2 separate regions of the Homo sapiens genome follow, and region 1 is linked to region 2. The links are contacts of gene promoters, found by promoter capture Hi-C in blood cells and fetal thymus (Javierre and others, 2016). All regions are on one chromosome and are shown on one strand. The core of a region is centred on a gene start or on the middle of the fragment in contact, and the rest is flanking DNA. Distances in the headings are between cores, read along the strand shown. Region 1 overlaps RIMS1 (regulating synaptic membrane exocytosis 1). Region 2 holds the start of C6orf147 (chromosome 6 open reading frame 147).

Region 1 (3,456 bases), core at 454-2,953, 920 kb after region 2:
GAGGCAAATTTTATTTGTTACTTTTTTATATCAGAAAATGATGTGTTCAAGTCTCATTTGTATATTACTTTATGCTACTTCATCAAATATGGGTATTTTGTCAGTAAGTTTATCTCTGTAACTTTCATACCTGCTGATTTTTGTTCTTATATTCCTTACTGGAAACATGCATAACAAGCCAATCATTTGACCAACTAAACAGAGACCAACTAGTTTCAGGAATGGGAAGGAATATCACAAACAGTAACTTGGCATAATTCTGTTAAATTTTCTAAACAATATAGAAAAATTCCAGTAAAGACAAGAAATTAGAAATATCAAATTGGTATATGAGTAATGTGAATGGTAATGAACAAATAATTATGGAAAATTTATATGTGGTGAATCTCCATGTAATCCAAAACAACACATTAATTACTTATTTGTAAGATCCACTACCTCAATAAAAATTCAATTTTACCAGAAATATTCTCAAGCATAGGAAGAAGCAGGTTTTGTGCAGGATCCATATGAAATGGTAAAAAAAAAAAAAAAAGAAAAAGAATCGAAAAGAGTAAATTTTTAAAAATCGTATTCTATTTTTTCAGAATTAACTAAAACATTTTAGTCAGAAAAATAATGAAGCTGATAGACCCTGGATTATTTCCTAAGGTAAAAATGAGTCAGCAATGTTTTAAAAACAAGAAAATGTAACTTACATATATGACAGTGTTAGACTTAGAAAAGCTTAGGGTCCAAAATAGCTTGGAGAAAATTAAGAAAATGGGAAATCAGTTCCTTACTTATAAATTTTAACTTGGACTTTGGTGACAGGGACAGACTATGAGTTTCCCATATGAAAGAGTCCATTACCTGTGGCATTTGTACACTAAACATCCAGTAAGGAACTAGTCTGGGCTTTCCTAGATGCAAGAAATCAATTTGTTCATGTGGACTCAGAATTTCTTCACCCTTTGAAAGGTATGAATGACCAGGTGTAGAGGTGTGTCCATGTGTACTTACTTATAAGCCATCAGGGTGGTTTAAAATGGATGGTTGAACTTCTGATTAAATAGAGAAGCTGCACAGTAACACTCAGTGGCTTTGTTATCTTACTGATTAGTACACAATTCCTGGTTCCACAGCCATGCAGACGTGCTGACAGCACTTACTTGCCCTCAGAGCTGTAACTGTTGATGCTGCCATCAGTAGACTCTCGGCTCGGCTGCCTTACCATCTTTCTCATTTCAGCTGCCATGCCTGTTTCTGTGCTTCTCTGGATGGTACTTTTTAACTTTTTGTGGCCCGACTCTGACAGGAGAGAGTAAAAGAAACTCTAAGTTTTATTTAGACAGTTTACTCCTGAATATCAATTGATCCTGCAAATACAATAGTTAATTTTACACATAATTACAAATTTAATCAGAAAAATAGTAACCTAAGGGAGTACTTTGCTTGATTCAGGCTCCTTGCCAAAGTATGCTTGGCTAAGGGGAGTACCACTGGATGCTATGCCATGGCCACAGTTTCAGTGACTGCCTAAATCTCAATCAGCCAAAATGAAATCATTGTATTATTGATGGTGACAACTTCAATGAAAATCTGAATTTGGCACCCAACTGTTCTGTGGAAAGATAATGGTGAACAATCTAATAGGTTTCTCCTAATACGGAATTCACTAAATGTGTATGAATAGTCCCAAAGGACAGGTCGTGTTCTTTTAAGGAGAAGGTGCATTTGGAACCCAGTTTGAAAAATACCACAGTTTTACTGTCACGTATCAGCAATCCTCATGAAGAGAAACTAGTATTTTAATTGATGATTTTTGCAGCACTTTAACATACACTATATAATATTTATACTTATTTCTACTCCATATAGATTATGGAGTTAGGTGTAACAGGTTTTATCTTAATTCAAAGACTACACAGCTACCTCATGGCCTTTTGACTCAGCTGCATGAGTTCTGACTGGCAGTTTGGGGTGTACACCTCCATTTGTACTGGGAATTACATACATTTGCATTTCAGTTCTTGATAAGCTCAGAGGAATTTTCTTGAGCCACTTTGAAATGCACTAACCAGCATTCTATTCATAGCATGGAAATAAATTCTAAAATATTTACTTGCTTACATGTATAAGCAGTATCAATAGGTTAGGAAAACTGTTAGACTTTATTCCATCTATACGTCCTATATAAATTTCTGGTTTTCGCTTTAGTTTCTGTATAGTATCATATAATACCCATTAATAATATATGAAAAATGCTCTATATACATAATTACATACATAACTACTATATAAACACATTAACTTTTCAATCCACATAAAACCTTTACAAAGCAGGTACCTAAATACACTCTTAGATAAGCCATTTGAAACACTGCATTTTTTCCCTCTCATTTTTGGTCACTGGATTCCTTTTGTAAATTGTCTAATCAAAGATATAATAGGTTATGCTATATGAACTTAATGCTGATCCTTCCTACACATTTAGTATGTTCATTAAAATTTTTATTTTTTATTGTTCTTAACCTTTTTATTGCTATTTTTGCTTACAAAGACAATATATGTATATTACAAAATATTTAAATGTTACAGAAATTGCCAACATTGAATGCCCCCTATAATTTCACCACTCAAGGAAGACAATGGTTAGTAATTTGGGAACTATTTTTTCTTTATACCTATACAAGCTTCTTCACTTGGCTACTGTGATCCACATTCTCCGTTTTTCCTTCTTTGACATTGGTTGTTACTTCCCAGTCTCTTCTGCTGGATTTTTCCTCTTTGAGATTTTTAGAAATAGACAATCCCTAGACCTCAGGCCTCAGACCTTTTGCTTTCTTCTACACTTACTTCCTAGGTGATCTCTAACATAGCTTTAACATAGCTAACAAAGCCACCTATGCCCTTGTGCCTCCCAAATATACATCAAGGTCTTAACCTTTCCCATAAATGCTGAAGTCATTAATCCAATTGCCTAGTAGCTCCATTTACAGATCTGATAGGCACTTCAACATTAACATATCCAAGACAGAACTCTTCCCCACCTCCACCACACTACCACCTCCCACTACTAAATCCTCCTCCCACAGTAAATGGTACTACAATTCACTTGGGTGATAAGGCCTAAATCCTTGTAATCATCTTTGATTCCTCTAACACACCCCACACCCAATCCATCAGCGAATCCTCTTGGCTTTGCCTTCAAAATGCATCACAAGTCTGGTCATTCTTCTTCCTCTCCACAGCTCCAACCCTATGTCCAGACACTATCATCACTCAAAAGAGCAGTGCCATACCCGTACAGCTAGTGTCACTGCTTCTATTCCTTTCCTCCTCAGAATATTCTTGACATAACAGCCATGGTGAGTCTTTAAAAATGTAAATCTGAATATATCATTCCCCTGCTCAAGATCTTATAATGATTAATCACCAAAGTAAAATGAAAATCCAAAATTGTTATCGTGGCCC
Region 2 (3,407 bases), core at 599-3,098:
TCAGCTCTGCACCAAGCAGACCTAACAGACGTCTACAGAACTCTCCACCCCAAATCAACATAATATACATTCTTCTCAGCACCACACCGCACTTATTCCAAAATTGACCACATAGTTGGAAGTAAAGCACTCCTCAGCAAATGTAAAAGAACAGAAATTATAACAAACTGTCTCTCAGACCACAGTGCAATCAAACTGGAACTCAGGATTAAGAAACTCACTCATAACTGCTCAACTACATGGAAACTGAACAACCTGCCCCTGAATGACTACTGGGTACATAATGAAATGAAGGCAGAAATAAAGATGTTATTTGAAACCAATGAGAACAAAGACACAACATACCAGAATCTCTGGGACACATTTAAAGCAGTGTGTAGAGGGAAATTTATAGCACTAAATACCCACAAGAGAAAGCAGGAAAGATCTAAAATTGACACCCTAACATCACAATTAAAAAAACTAGAGAAGCAAGAGCAAACACATTCAAAAGCTAGCAGAAGGCAATAAATAACTAAGATCAGAGCAGAACTGAAGGAGATAGAGACACAAAAACCCTTCAAAAAATCAATGAATCCAGGAGCTGCTTTTTTGAAAAGATCAACAAAATTGATAGCTAGCAAGACTAATAAAGAAGAAAAGAGAGAAGAATCAAATAGACGCAATAAAAAATGATAAAGGGGATATCACCACTGATCCCACAGAAATACAAACTACCATCAGAGAATATTATAAACACCTCTATGCAAATAAACTAGAAAATCGAGAAGAAATGGATAAATTCCTGGACACATACACCCTCCCAAGACTAAACCAGGAAAAAACTGAATCCCTGAATAGACCAATAACAGGCTCTGAAATTGAGCCAATAATTAATAGCCTACCAACCAAAAAAGTCCAGGACCAGAAGGATTCACAGCCGAATTCTACCAGAGGTACAAGGAAGAGCTGGTACTAGTCCTTCTGAAACTATTCCAATCAATAGAAAAAGAGGGAATCCTCCCTAACTCATTTTATGAGGCCAGCATCATCCTGATACCAAAGCCTGGCAGAGACACAACAAAAAAAGAGAATTTTAGACCAATATCCCTGATGAACATCGATGCAAAAATCCTCAATAAAATACTGGCAAACCAAATCCAGCAGCACATCAAAAAGCTTATCCACCATGATCAAGTGGGCTTCATCCCTGGGATGCAAGGCTGGTTCAACATATGCAAATCAATAAACATAATCCATCATATAAACAGAACCAAAGAAAAAAAACCACATGATTATCTCAATAGATGCAGAAAAGGCCTTTGACAAAATTCAACAGCGCTTCATGCTAAAAACACTCAATAAATTAGGTATTGATGGGACGTATCTAAAAATAATAACAGCTGTTTATGACAAACCCACAGCCAATATCGTACTGAATAGGCAAAAACTGGAAGCATTCCCTTAGAAAACTGGCACAAGACAGGGATGTCCTCTCTCACCACTGCTATTCAACATAGTGTTGGAAGTTCTGGCCAGGGCAATCAGGCAGGAGAAAGAAATAAAGAATATTCAATTAGGAAAAGAGGAAGTCAAATTGTCCGTTTGCAGATGACATGATTGTATATTTAGAAAACCTCATCTTCTCAGCCCGAAATCTCCTTAGGCTGATAAGCAACTTCAGCAAAGTCTCGGGATACAAAATCAGTGTGCAAAAATCACAAGCATTCTTACACACCCAGCCCCATTTTCGACGCCCTCTACTTGGCAGCCGGTGAGCCCCCGGCCCCTGCGTTTCTGGCTCCAGCCCCAGGTGGCGGCGCTGTAGGCTGGAGCCCCTGGAAAGCGCTGGCCTGGCAGCCCTGGGGAGTGTTCCAGGCCCTTGGACCGCAGGGAGGGCAACCAAATGGCAGAGGCGGTAACGGAGAGCATCCCTGAACGGTAAAAAGTCGTCTAAAGGATCGAAGAAACGGAGTGTGAGCGAGTCCGTGGGCGGGACAGCACCTTCGGGTGCCGGTCAGAGGAGCGAGCGGCGGAAGAGGCGGGTCCAGGGCGGTGTAATTAAGGCGCGGAGCCCAGACCCTCCTGCTACAGTGCCTCGGGCTTTCCTGGAGGCGGGCGGCGGGATGCTGCTCCGTTCTCCGGGTCCTCTCCTCCGGTTCTTGTCGTTTGGTCACGCCCTCAGTTCAGTCGGTTATTGGAAAACGATCAAGGCCCAAAGATGGTTTACGTGGCGTTGTGGATGTTATCACCGTTGTTTGGTGACCGAGCCTGGAGCTTGAGCCCTGGGACGTCTTGCCAGCCGCATGTGGTCCCGTGCCCACTTCTCGCGGTGGCGCGTTAATCCACCTAGACTGTGCATTGGTCCAGTCTGGGTTGACCCCGACCCGAAGTGGCCCTTTCCTTCGCGTCCTGAACTTCGCTTCTCCGTCGGTGTCTGGTCTCTTCCCGCCGGCGGGCTCTGCGGTGGCGGGAGGAGCTGTACTACTCGTGCCTTAGCGCACCCTTACTTTCCCAGGCCAGAAACGCGAAATGCTGTCGGCCTTCCAGAGGCTGTTCCGAGTCTTATTTGTGATTGAAACAGTCTCAGAATACGGAGTCCTGATCTTCATTTATGGATGGCCCTTTCTCCAGACCCTTGCGATGCTCCTGATCGGGACAGTGTCTTTCCACCTTTGGATCCGCAGAAATCGAGGTGAGTGGCTTTAGGGGCCCTGGTAGGAAAAGCTTCCTTCACCCAGGTGCCCGGAAAGGCGAGTTTCGCTTCCGGGATCTTTCAGGATCACTCCAGCTCCTTAGTCTGAAGGCCTAGGACAGTTCTGCAAATCACCATGTTAAAAAAAACCCTGGGTGTGCCTCCTGGTTTGTGAGTAGAAAGGGCAAGATGTGGTTGGGAAGGAAGATTGTGGCTAGAAGCAACCAAAGGTGGAAAATCTAGGACATTTGTGCACTGTAGGTTTAGAAGTCCCAGGAATCCCAGGCCAGCTCCTCTAGGGGGCCATCTTCCACTAAATCTCTTTTGCGGGTCTGCCCCGTCACTTAGATACCCTAGGAGAGCTGATCTCAAAGCGGAGTCCCGCGATCAGCAGAATCAGCATCACCTGAGAACTCCTTAAAAATGCAAACTGCCAGGCGCGTTGGCTCACGCCTGTAATCCCTGCACTTTGGGAGGCCAAGGCCCATCACTTGAGGTCAGGAGTTTCAGACCCGCCTGGCCAACATGGTGAAACCCATCTCTACTAAAAATACAAAAATTAGCCTGGCGCGCGTGCCTGTAATCCCAGGTACTAGGGAGGCGGAGGCAGGAGAATCGCTTGATCCTGGGAGAAGGAGGTTGGAGTGAGCCGAGATGGCGCCACTGCTCTCCAGGCTGGGCAACAGAGCGAGACTCCGTCTCAAGAAAAAACAAAAAAACAAAAAACAAACCA

The links. Contacts are between HindIII fragments. The CHiCAGO score rates a contact against its expected background, and 5 or more counts as called.
Region 1: a fragment that was not itself captured here is called in contact with the fragment with the promoter of C6orf147 in region 2 in 3 of 17 cell types (total B cells, naive CD8 T cells and naive B cells); the score reaches 10.2 in total B cells.

Annotation. Positions count from the first base shown.
Region 1 is chr6:72,388,432-72,391,887 of GRCh38, reverse strand. RIMS1 (regulating synaptic membrane exocytosis 1) reads right to left here. Exons shown (of 34, transcript NM_014989.7): 30 at 1,152-1,290. Among named protein-coding and RNA genes, the nearest start is that of KCNQ5, 230 kb to the left of the region's middle. RefSeq lists a silencer at 974-1,174. The HindIII fragment of the contact is 1,949 bases long and covers 729-2,677 here.
Region 2 is chr6:73,308,819-73,312,225 of GRCh38, reverse strand. It overlaps C6orf147 (chromosome 6 open reading frame 147), which reads left to right and starts at 1,848. Exons shown (of 5, transcript NR_027005.4): 1 at 1,848-1,920; 2 at 2,498-2,674. LOC122539213 (KHDC1-KHDC1L) reads left to right here and starts at 2,067. Exons shown (of 7, transcript NR_173146.1): 1 at 2,067-2,674. It also overlaps a transcript of KHDC1 not described here. RefSeq lists enhancers at 1,700-1,959, 2,480-2,549. The HindIII fragment of the contact is 1,548 bases long and covers 1,161-2,708 here.